4 separate regions of the Homo sapiens genome follow, and regions 1, 3 and 4 are each linked to region 2. Evidence: promoter capture Hi-C in 16 types of primary human blood cells and fetal thymus (Javierre and others, 2016). All regions are on one chromosome and are shown on one strand. Each heading gives the region's core, a stretch centred on a gene start or on the middle of the fragment in contact. The rest is flanking DNA. Distances are from core to core; before and after follow the strand shown.

Region 1 (2,700 bases), core at 23-2,522, 510 kb after region 2:
AGATAGAAAGGTACCAGCCATCATTTCCTTAAAGATAAGAGGAATAAAGAAATCCTGAACCAAGTAAAATATTTTAGTCATATCAAAAGTTCTACAGATACTCAAATCCATGAGTACATAAACATATACACTTCTTTTTGGTTCTGATTTTTTACGATAAAACAATTGATAGCAACTCTTCTCTGTGTGTAAAAGCTGACCTTGGACAGTTCTGTTATTTGTCAAATATTAAGATAAGACTTTTCATTTTCTTTTATATAACTCTCACAGCACTCCTATAGGGCAATGACGCCCCAAGTTTGACAGATGAAGCACAGAAAGGTAAAGAACTCAAGATTTTACACTCCCTTGGCTTTACTACTGGAACTCGGATTTCTTGCTTCAAAGTTTGTGTTCATTCCCATCTTACTCACTGTCTCTCATAACAAATCATATCCCCATTAATCCATACCCGGTGTGAATCCCTGGGAGATCAGAAGACAAAAAAGGCAAAACACCGACTCATCTTGAAAAACTTATGAAAAGTTAAATGGCAATCCAAGAATTAAAGTCGATTGTGCTTAAATGTATTTTTGTCAATCTTTTCATCTCCCTTTCGTGAGTATCCATTTTCTGTTCCTAAACAGATGGGACAATCCTCAAAAGCAATAGCCCCATGTCTACAAATCCTAGAATCTTAGAGGTCATTGGCTTCAACCTCCCACGATACAAGGATACTCTCAAAGAAAACCACTTTCAGCCTCTGCCTGACATTCACAATGGGAAGATGATCAACATGGCCACCACTGTTGCCACCTGTAAACTCCCATCCTGTGGCGGTAAGTATGTCTTCTACAGTTGCAAGAAATAAAGCTTCTCCCCAAGCTTATTCTGTGTAGGGACGAGAACACAGAACTTATCATCAGAAAATTCCCATTTCAAGTCCCAGGTTCACCACTTACTAGTTCTATGACATGAAACAAACACTGAAACATCCCTGTGCCTTGAATTTTTGTGCCCTAACATACAAAATGGTAATCACCAGTAACAACTATCCTTTCTTACACTGTCTGTCAGAATCAAATTCAACAGTTTTATGAAAACATTTTATAGACAAGCACTCTACAAGGTTAATATCTGTTCTCTTTTCTCAAAATAATTAGAAGTAGTATAATAGCACTAAACTTGGTTGTTGAAAGGCCAGATGTAGGTAAATTATTAAACTTTCAGAGTCAGTTTCCTCATCTGTATAAGATTACGATAATCTCTACTTGATTCTGAAAATATCAAAATGAGATGATGCATGAAAAATGCTTTACAAACTAAAGTTCCTTCAATTCTAAGAATGACTATTATTATACCATTGGTTATAATTTCCAGGTCCTTCATATACTAAAATTCTCTTACTCTGGACTAGATCAAAGACCCAAGCTATGGTCTAAGAATAAAGACTACACTGGGACCACTGTCCTTTCCTGCATGTCATTTACAGTTAATGTGGTCAAAGGCTGCACTGCCTTCATCTGATAGTCATATCACAGAAGACGCCTAAGATGGCAGTAAGTTAGAATAAAATCCCAGGCCTCTCCCCCAAAAACATCTATTGAAACAATTTCCCCGAATGCTCTATTTGCACAGCTAGTTGGAAAGGTGGGGGGCAGCTTTGTGCGGTTTATATTTATCCTTACTATAATTCACCTTCAAAGCTTTGTCTGACCCATCCATTTCAGTCTCTAGAATTCTGATTTTTGTCACACCCAGAAGAGTGGGTATTCCACACCAGACCTGCATGATGGGCTAAAGTACTAAGGCAAACATGTTAAACCATGTTGGCAAACACGTTAAACGGGTCAGAACCAAGGACAGCACCCATGACACTAGCTATTAGTACCTATTATTATAATATTTCCCTCCAAGCTAGCACTGATGCCGCATCAATATGCCCAGGGCACCCACACTGCGACATCCGGTCTGTAGTCATCTATATGTGCCATTGCCCAGTCCATATCTCTCTATTCTGTCCTCGGAGGTATTTGGAAAAATCAGCAGATGATGATATTACCATCTATTTACATCATTCTTCAGACCTACCTACTAGCCTGGTAACTTTATCCAAAAAGGAAATAAGGTGAGGAGGGTATGGCTGCTTTCATGTTCCCGTGCTGGGGTTTACTACATAAAGTTGTATTGCAATTTTTCACTTACATGTTGACACTAGCTGCTTGGTAACCCTTTTAAACATATCTAGTTCATGTTCATTATAGAAAATTTATAAAGTGTAGATGAGCAAAAATTTTTAAATCCCTAAACCCCATTTCCCAGAGAAGGGAACCACTTTTCACATTCTGTATACATCCTTCTAGGTTTACACAACCATACACAATCTTTTCAGAGGCTGATTAGCCTTTGAAACTCATCTAAGAATTCTGCTAAAGCACAACATCAAATTTAATAGCTAAATCCCCCAAAAACACCTTCTCCAGTTCTTAAAACCAGGAAGTCTGCTCATCAATCATCTCTGGTGCTATCATGCAAGACTACCATGTGCAACTGTACAAGCTGTACAGGGCACAATTGTACCCAATAGTTCTGCATACTGATTTTCAATTGCTTCACAATGTTCTACAATTTGAAAAATCACAACCACAGGTTTTGCCACTATCCAGGCATACAATGTATTTAGGCCTACTTGTCTATAGGAGCTATGTGATTGCTAAATAT
Region 2 (2,700 bases), core at 50-2,549:
TGCACTCCAGCCTGGACAACACAGCGAGACTCTGTCTCCACACACACACAAAAAAAGGCATAACAAATTTAAGTGACTCAAAGCTTTATGTGACACAGGAGCTCTCAGAAAGGAACAGTTAAATTATAACATGTCCATATTATGCGTTAGTATGTGTCCACAACTAACCCATAATATGGACATGTTATAATTTAACTGTTCATTCCTCTCTTGATAGACACTGAAATCGTCTCTATAATTTTCCTGTAAGAAATAATGCCTTGGGGTGGGGGTGTCTTCCTTTCTGAGGCTATCATTTGTATTCCTCACTTCTTAAATTTGTTTGATATGTTGAGGCTTAAAAAAAAAAGATTACGGGTCTTCAGAACGCCCCAATGCCCGCGGGGTGCTGGGGTGCCTCGGAGTTTGTCAAGGTGTAGCTTAAAACGTTAATTCCCATGCTCGCTCCCAAATATTCGAATTAAGGCTTCTGTAGTTCTTACAAGTCACCCGCTTTCTTTCAGGAGGAATGTTAAAGATTAAGAGCGGCAAGAAGTCAGAGTCGGCCCACCCTCCGAGCTCTCTTAGGGCGATGTCCTTGCTAATTTGGAGACTGATTCAGTCCCCTTTTGGCCCCCAAGTTACGTAAAGATAAGGACTTTGGAGATGTTTTCTCAGGAAGGACAGAGCTGAAAAACAAAGTTCCGTAAGTCTGGCCGGTAACTACATCTTTCCTTCCTAACAAAGAATAAGCCGCAATTCACTCTCTCTGGCACCTGAACTTTGGGGTAACGATTAACTGCGATCCGAAGCCTTCAGGCAAGTAAAAAATTCCTGAAGTGATTACGCCTGTTTGGAGGCTTGCAGGGCACTAGGGGATGGGGAAAGGTGAATCGAGGTGCTCTCTGGCTCATTCGCAGCCGGCTAACCCGCCATATCTTACACAGCTAAGGGCTGCCGACGCCATTTTGCAGGGTGGGCTGCGCAGACTCTTGGCGGGAGGCCGGCGCGCTTGAGCGGGAGAGGACGTGGAAGGGTTGGAGGTGGGGAGTGCGCGTTACGACTGGAAAGCACGCGTGCGCACAGGCGACAGCAGCGGAGGGGTGGGGCCAGTGTACGAGTGCGCGTGCTCGGTGGGAGCCCGCGGAGTACCTGGAAGGAGGTGGGGGCGAGGTAGAAAGGAGTGGGGTTGAAAAGCGCTTGCGCAGGACGGCTACGGTACGGGGGTGGGAGGGCTTCGGAGCACGCGCGCGGAGGCGGGACTTGGGAAGCGCTCGCGAGATCTTCAGGGTCTATATATAAGCGCGGGGAGCCTGCGTCCTTTCCCTGGTGTGATTCCGTCCTGCGCGGTTGTTCTCTGGAGCAGCGTTCTTTTATCTCCGTCCGCCTTCTCTCCTACCTAAGTGCGTGCCGCCACCCGATGGAAGATTCGATGGACATGGACATGAGCCCCCTGAGGCCCCAGAACTATCTTTTCGGTAACTGCTGGGGGGAGCTGGAGCGAGGCCGAGCGGGGCCTGGTGGCGGTGAGGGTGGGGGTGAGGGGCGGGAATCCGGCTGCAACCGGGTCTGGTGGAGACCGCCAGACCGACGGGAGGCCTGAGCGGGTGGGAAGAGCTGCCTGAGCCCTGGACCTGGAGGGATTGGAGCCGCGGGGGGAGCCGGTGGCGTGAAGGGGGAGGAGACGAGCGGCCTGAAGCGTCTGGGGCGTGAGCGGTCCGAGGCCCGGGGCCTGAGGTAAAGTGGAACCGGCCGCCTGGAAGTTCGGCCTTTGCCGGGGATACGTGGCGGAGCTCCAGGCGTGGTTTATTTTCTAACGGCGGTGGTTCATAGGCTTCTGATGCCAGGCCCCGGGTTGGTGGTCCTGGAGGCTGGGTTCACCGGGAAGCATGGGCCTGCTTGTTGGAGCGGGTAGATGCACAGCCTGGCGTTATTCTGGCCTCAGAGCCTGGAGCTGCCGGACGTAGACTTACCTCGCGTGCTTCGGCCAGTTACTGGGGGTGGGGAGGCGCGGCGCGGCGTGAGGAGGCCGCAACCGCTGGGAGCACGTGGTTGCCACGTGGTTGGGGGAGGGAGGGGGGTGTGGGCGCTACATCCGGGACTCACCGGCGTGTTGCCACTCGTGAGCCAGGGATGCTGTGGCTCTGTTGAAGTGGGAAATGTTAAGAGGCTGGTAGCACTAGGGTTCTGGAGGTCTTTGTTCAGTGCTTACAGCATGTACTGTGATGGCAGCTCTCATTTTTTTGAGCCCCTTTTCTGTCTCACTGCGGTAGGTGGAGCTAGCCCCACTTTGCAGATGAGGATACTGGTGCCCAGAGATAAACTCACTTAACGAAGGTTGTACTTAGTAAAGGCAATAAGAGACTAAATCTAAACCAAGACGCTTGACTCCGTAGCTGCTGCTTCGTGAATATTAATGAGGCTTCGTTTTAGGGGGACGTCCTCGCATGCCGCCATTTGTGCGGCATTGACCAAACTGCTTTTCTAAATACAAGAAACACGTAGAGTGTTCGGTTTGAGTCAGATCAAGACCTAAGACTATTCGCAGAATTTTGGGAGCACCACCCCCCTCGACTTGCGGTAGTCCTGCCCCAAAAAGGAGAGTCCCACTTGGGTTTTTGATCTCAGTAGGATTAATTGCAGAAGCCTAATCTTTGTACTATTCAGACTTTGAAGTAAATGCAAATCCTACCGTGAATTTTATCTTGTTCATTATCCGTG
Region 3 (2,700 bases), core at 72-2,571, 900 kb after region 2:
CATGTCCGAAAAAGAAAAAGAAAGAAAAACAAAAAGAAACCATTGTCTAAGGCCATGGAGATTTACACTCTAAGAGTTTTATACTTTTAGCACTTACATTTAGGTCTTTGATCTGTTTTGAATTAATATTTTTATTGTGGTAAAATACATATAACATGAAATAACTTATTTTTATTTTTTATAAATGTATTTGAACTAAAGATGGGATTTTGCTATGTTGCTTAAGCTGGTCTTTAACTTCTGGCCTCAAGCAATCCTCCCACCTTGGCCTCCTACAGTTCTGGGATTAGAGGTGTGAGCTACTGCACCCAGCCTGACTTAATATTTATAAATGATGTAAAGTAGGGATCCAACTTCATTCTTTTGCATGTGGATTTCCAGTGTCCCAGCATCATTTGTTGAAAAGATTATTCTATCCACCCCCGCCCACCTTTTTTTTTTTTTTGAGATAGAGTTGTGCTCTTGTTGCCTGGGCTGGAGTGCAATGGCACGATCTCGGCTCACTGCAACTTTCGCCTCCCAGGTTTGAGTAATTCTCCTGCCACAGCCCCCCAAGTAGCTGGGATTACAGGAATGCACCACCATGCCCAGCTAATTTTGTATTTTTAGTAGAGACAGGGTTTCACTATGTTGGCCAGGCTGGTCTCGAACTCCTGACCTCGAGTGATCCACCCACTTTGGCCTCCCAAAGTGCTGGGATTACAGGCGTGAGCCACCACCTCCGGCCATTCTTTCCCCATTGAATTGTCTTGATGCCCTTGTCAAAAATCAATTGACCATAAATGTTAGAGTTTATTTCTGACTGTCAGTTTTATTTCATTGATCTTTTATGTCATGATTATGCGAGTACTACACTGTCTTAATTACTGTAGTTTTACAGTAAGTTTTGAAGCTGGGAAATTCAAGGTTGTATTGTCCTCTTTATGTACTGTTGCATTCTATTTGCTAACTTTTTTTTTTCAGAATCATAAACAGCTCTTTTATTTCTATATTAAAATGATTTTTGTGGCATATTTAGCAATTTAAAAAAATTGTTATTTTAGGTTTGGGGGTACATGTGAAGGTTTGTTACATAGGTAAACACGTGTCATAGGGGTTTGTTGTACATATTATTACATCACCCAGGTATTAAGCCCAGTACCCACTAGTTAGCTTTTCTGCTCCTCCCCCTCCTCCCACTCTCCCTCCTCCAGTAGACCTGTGTCTGTTGTTTCCTCCTTTTTTTTCTTTCTTTCTTTTTTTTGAGACAACGTCTTGCTCTGTCACCCCTGGAGTGCAGTGGCATGATCTCAGCTCACTGCAAACTCCGCCTCCCAGGTGCAAGTGATTCTCCTGCCTCAGCCTCCTGAGTAGCTGGGATTATAAGTGCTCACCATCACGCCCGGCTAATTTTTGTATTTTTAGTAGAGATGGGGTTTCACCATGTTGGCCAGGCTGGTCTCAAACTCCTGACCTCAGGTGATCCGCCCGCCTCAGCCTCCCAAAGTGTTGGGATTACAGGCTGAGCCACCGTGCCTGGCCTGTTTCCTTCTTTTGTTTCCTTCTTTGTGTTCATAAGCTCTTACCATTTAGCCCTTATAACATTTTGTTCTAAATTATTGCATCTCTGGTTATGAATATTTGCCTATAATTTTTTTTTGAGACGTAGTTTCGCTCTTGTTGCTTGAACCGCCTCCCAGGTTCAAGCACTTCTCCTGCCTCAGCCTCCCAAGTAGCTGGGATTATAGGCATGAGCTACCATGCCTGACTTTTTTTTTTTTTTTTTGAGACAGAGTCTCGCTCTGTCACCCAGGCTGGAGTGCAGTGGCATGATCTCGGCTCACTGCTCGGCTCACTGCAACCTCTGCCTCCCGGGTTCGGGCAATTCTCCTGCCTCAGCCTCCCGAGTAGCTGGGATTACAGGCATGTGCCACCAAGCCTGGCTAATTTTTGCATTTTTAGTAGAGACAGGGTTTCACCATGTTAGCCAGGATGGTCTCGATCTCCTGACCTCATGATCCACCCACCTTGGCCTCCCAAAGTGCTGGGATTACAGGTGTGAGCCACCGCACCTGGCCCTAAGTTTGTATTTTTAGTAGAGACAGGGTTTCTTCATGTTGGTCAGGCTGGTCTCGAACTCCTGACCTCAGGTGATCCACCACCTCGGCCTCCGAAAGTGCTGGGATTACAGGCGTGAGCCATTGCACCCAGTGTCTATAGTTCTTTTTTTCCTTAAAGGTCTTTGTCCACTTTTTGTATCAGGTATTATTTTGATTTTATGGAAGAGAAAAGGAAACTCTAAAGAACGGAGGAATGCAGATAAGCAGCAGCAGCAACCCTAGGGCTGAGACAGTGCACTTAAGGAAGAGGCCCTTCTAGGGCTGAGAGCCAGTGCCCCATTGCTGGAGGGGATATGGCCTTGGCTTGGTGAATGGCAGAGAAGTTCCTCTTGTGCCACACCAGTGGAAGTTGCTGGAAATCCCTTCTCTAGGACTTGCTGATAATATGCCCTGTAATGCTGAAAGGCTGTTTATAGGAGGTACCCCACTTAGAGCCATTCTGCTGTGAAACTACCGGGTACTACGAAGTACCTGGAGAAATTGCTCATTGCTAGGTGGTGTAGGCTTCTGCATATTGCAGGATCTGGGCCTTGGAGAAGCTGCCCACCACCTCAGGAGCCTGGTGCTGGAGCAACATATATACTGAAGGAGCTATGCTAGA
Region 4 (2,700 bases), core at 133-2,632, 610 kb after region 2:
AACTGAAGACTGAACTTCTGACTCAGTAAAGGCCAGTCCCGTACAATGGCCAATGATCACGTAAACTGGGAAAAATCATAAAGAACGCTAATATACAATTTACTAGGTGACACCATTAAATATTAAGTCCTGTCCATATTATATCAATATTCTTTTTCTACCATATCAAATTAGACTGCAAATTCTAAACAAACTAAAAGGGAAAGAGAAAAAGCATTCAGCAGAACAACAAAGATAAAAACAAAAAGACTGAACTTACTCGAACATAAATTTGCTACTTCCACAATTGCTACATTATAGCCAAAATGCTCCTGCAGTAATTATAGTAATACCTACCTTATTGAAAAGCTACTAACTGGCCAAGCCCTTTACATTAATTACCCATATTTAATTCTCAAAAAAAGATGAGCAGAAAGAAGTAACCTATCCAAAGTCCCACATCTACTAGGTAGTAGAGCCCATGCCCTTTTCATGGAGCACTATGGACTCCACAGTTCAAGGGTCAGAAAGCCCATGATTTCTGAGAGAGGAGAAGAAATCAAGCTTTACTCTCAAAGGTCCTAAATTAATTAACATCAAAATGGAGAACAATGAAAATACAGAAGAGTAAATATTTCAGCCTACATGAATCAGTTGGGCCATCCTGAAAGGGTAATTCCCTAGATCTTGCCACTTAAAAAAGCATTTAATTAACAAAGAGCCATGCAATTCTACAGCCCATGATATTTTTTTCTTGTCTTTTTTTTTTTTTTTTTAAGTAGAGACAGGGTTTCACCATGTTGCCCAGGCTGGCCTCGAACTCCTAAGCTCAAGCGATCTGCCTACCTTGGCCTCCCAAAGGGCTGGGATTACAGGTGTGAGCCCCCATGCCCAGCCTAAAGCCCACAATATTAATGCTAAAACAAAACACATTATAGGCTGGGCTCGATGGCTCACACCTGTAGTCCCAACATTTTGGGAGGCCGAGGCGGGCAGATCACTTGAGGTCAGGAGTGTGAGGCCAGCCTGACCAACATGGTGAAACCCCATCTCTACTAAAAGTACAAAAATTAACCGGGCCTGGTGGCACATGCCTACAATCCCAGCTACTCGGGAGGCTGAGGAAGGAGAATCACTTGAACCCGGGAGACAGAGGCTGCAGTGAGCTGAGATCGTGCCACTGTACTCCAGCCTGGTTAACAGAGCAAGACTCCGTCTCAAAAAAAAAAAAAAAAAAAAGACTGTGGCAAGACATACTATAATGGTACTCAAGTAGTCTTTGTGTTTAGCAGCAAAGATTGTAACTGTGACAAAGAATCTCAAATCCAGCTGAACCCAAGTAATTTTTAAATTCTAAGATTTGTTGACAGTCCACAGGCAATGACTCTTAAAGATGTTCTGATTGTTCATATTGTAGGTAAGGCAATTAAAGTGACTGAAATACCGGTCTATGATTAACCTCGCCATAACAATCAGATGAAAATACCTTAAGACTCACAACTTTAAGGAGATCACAAAAGTAAAATCCCAAGCAAATAATGAGTTCTCAAGTTTTTCCCATTAAGTGGTATTACTCCTAAGCCTAAGAATAAACTGGAAACCCAATTTTGACAGAAGTAGCTAGGGAACTATGGCTAGTAGCGAACTGCTAAAACAGTATACTATGCTTTTCAAGGTACGACTATCCAAAATGCAAAACAAGTTATAGCAAAACACAACCACAGCAATTTGACTAACAGACTCATTTCTGGACCTCTTGAATCCTCAGGCTTTTCCCCTGTACTAGTGAGTTAATTTTTCTCCCTTCCCTTCAAAAAAAAAAAATATATATATATATACACACACATATATATTTCTTCAATCCCTAATTGTATATATATATTTCTTCAATCCCTAATTGCTGGCAGGCCTTATGCTAGTAATACAAAGATTAACAGATGCCAGGTGAGTAGTGTCAGGACTGAGTTCTTCCTGCCCCTCTGCCCCCTTTCTCTTTGAATCTATCATGTAGTCATTTCAGAGGGCCAAAATATATTTTATTGTTAGTTACCAAAACTGGTTCAATGTTCTCCAGTTAACTCCTAAAAAAATAAACATTAAAAATTACTCAAGTTCCTTTTTCACAATAGTAGAACCTCAGTCTTTCTTTTTCTTCTGTGGATCAGAGGCTTTTTACTATACAATGGTTTCCTACATTCAATATGCTTATATTTACACACCTCTCTATCACAAGCCAAAGAGCCAAAGCTTTTTTTTTTATTTTTCCTATTAATGTCCCAGTGTTTATACTTCACAGCTTTCCATTTTGTGAAGCTCTTCATTGTTAACTCAACCTGAGAGGGAATTTCCTAAAAACGCTTCCCGCTGACATCACAGAACTCTTCCATCTTTTAGTTTCATTAAAACACTAAGAACCAGGTAAGAGATACCCTACTGGATTGTCAGGTCTTCCTGGTCTGTCTCTCATTTGCCTACAAAGACAAACTTCCTCTTAAGCAATTGCGATCAGCAGAAACTAACCAAGGGTAACGAGCACATTCTTAACCAACACGTTTCTTCCCCCATTGTCATCTAATTCAATGAACAATACAACTCAGAAGAAAATCTTGTATGAATTCTCACTGCTTATTCTGTTAAGGTTAAAACCATCAGCTTTGATGATGGTAAGAATAAGAATTCAAAAACCACAATTTGGTCAGTCTAAACTAAACCGATCAAACA

What was found. The method cuts DNA at HindIII sites, captures the fragments that hold promoters and counts their contacts. A CHiCAGO score of 5 or more calls a contact.
Region 1: a fragment that was not itself captured here is called in contact with the fragment with the promoter of NPM1 in region 2 in 2 of 17 cell types (M2 macrophages and megakaryocytes); the score reaches 6.4 in M2 macrophages.
Region 3: a contact is called between a fragment that was not itself captured here and the fragment with the promoter of NPM1 in region 2, in 2 of 17 cell types (total B cells and naive CD8 T cells). The highest score is 6.0, in total B cells.
Region 4: a fragment that was not itself captured here is called in contact with the fragment with the promoter of NPM1 in region 2 in 2 of 17 cell types (fetal thymus and total B cells); the score reaches 5.9 in fetal thymus.

Annotation. Positions count from the first base shown.
Region 1 is chr5:171,900,138-171,902,837 of GRCh38, forward strand. All of the region lies in intron 4 of FBXW11 (F-box and WD repeat domain containing 11), which reads right to left. Among named protein-coding and RNA genes, the nearest start is that of FBXW11, 110 kb to the right of the region's middle. The HindIII fragment of the contact is 821 bases long and covers 863-1,683 here.
Region 2 is chr5:171,386,550-171,389,249 of GRCh38, forward strand. It overlaps NPM1 (nucleophosmin 1), which reads left to right and starts at 1,300. Exons shown (of 11, transcript NM_002520.7): 1 at 1,300-1,457. The coding sequence starts at 1,400. It overlaps MIR3912 (microRNA 3912), which reads right to left and starts at 211; the gene lies at 107-211. RefSeq lists silencers at 1,581-1,640, 1,961-2,020. The HindIII fragment of the contact is 7,200 bases long and covers 82-2,700 here.
Region 3 is chr5:172,290,842-172,293,541 of GRCh38, forward strand. The region is part of intron 1 of LOC100288254 (a long non-coding RNA gene); the gene reads left to right. Among named protein-coding and RNA genes, the nearest start is that of UBTD2, 8.4 kb to the left of the region's middle. The HindIII fragment of the contact is 2,761 bases long and covers 1-2,700 here.
Region 4 is chr5:171,997,599-172,000,298 of GRCh38, forward strand. The region is part of intron 1 of FBXW11 (F-box and WD repeat domain containing 11); the gene reads right to left. Among named protein-coding and RNA genes, the nearest start is that of FBXW11, 7.7 kb to the right of the region's middle. The HindIII fragment of the contact is 1,683 bases long and covers 542-2,224 here.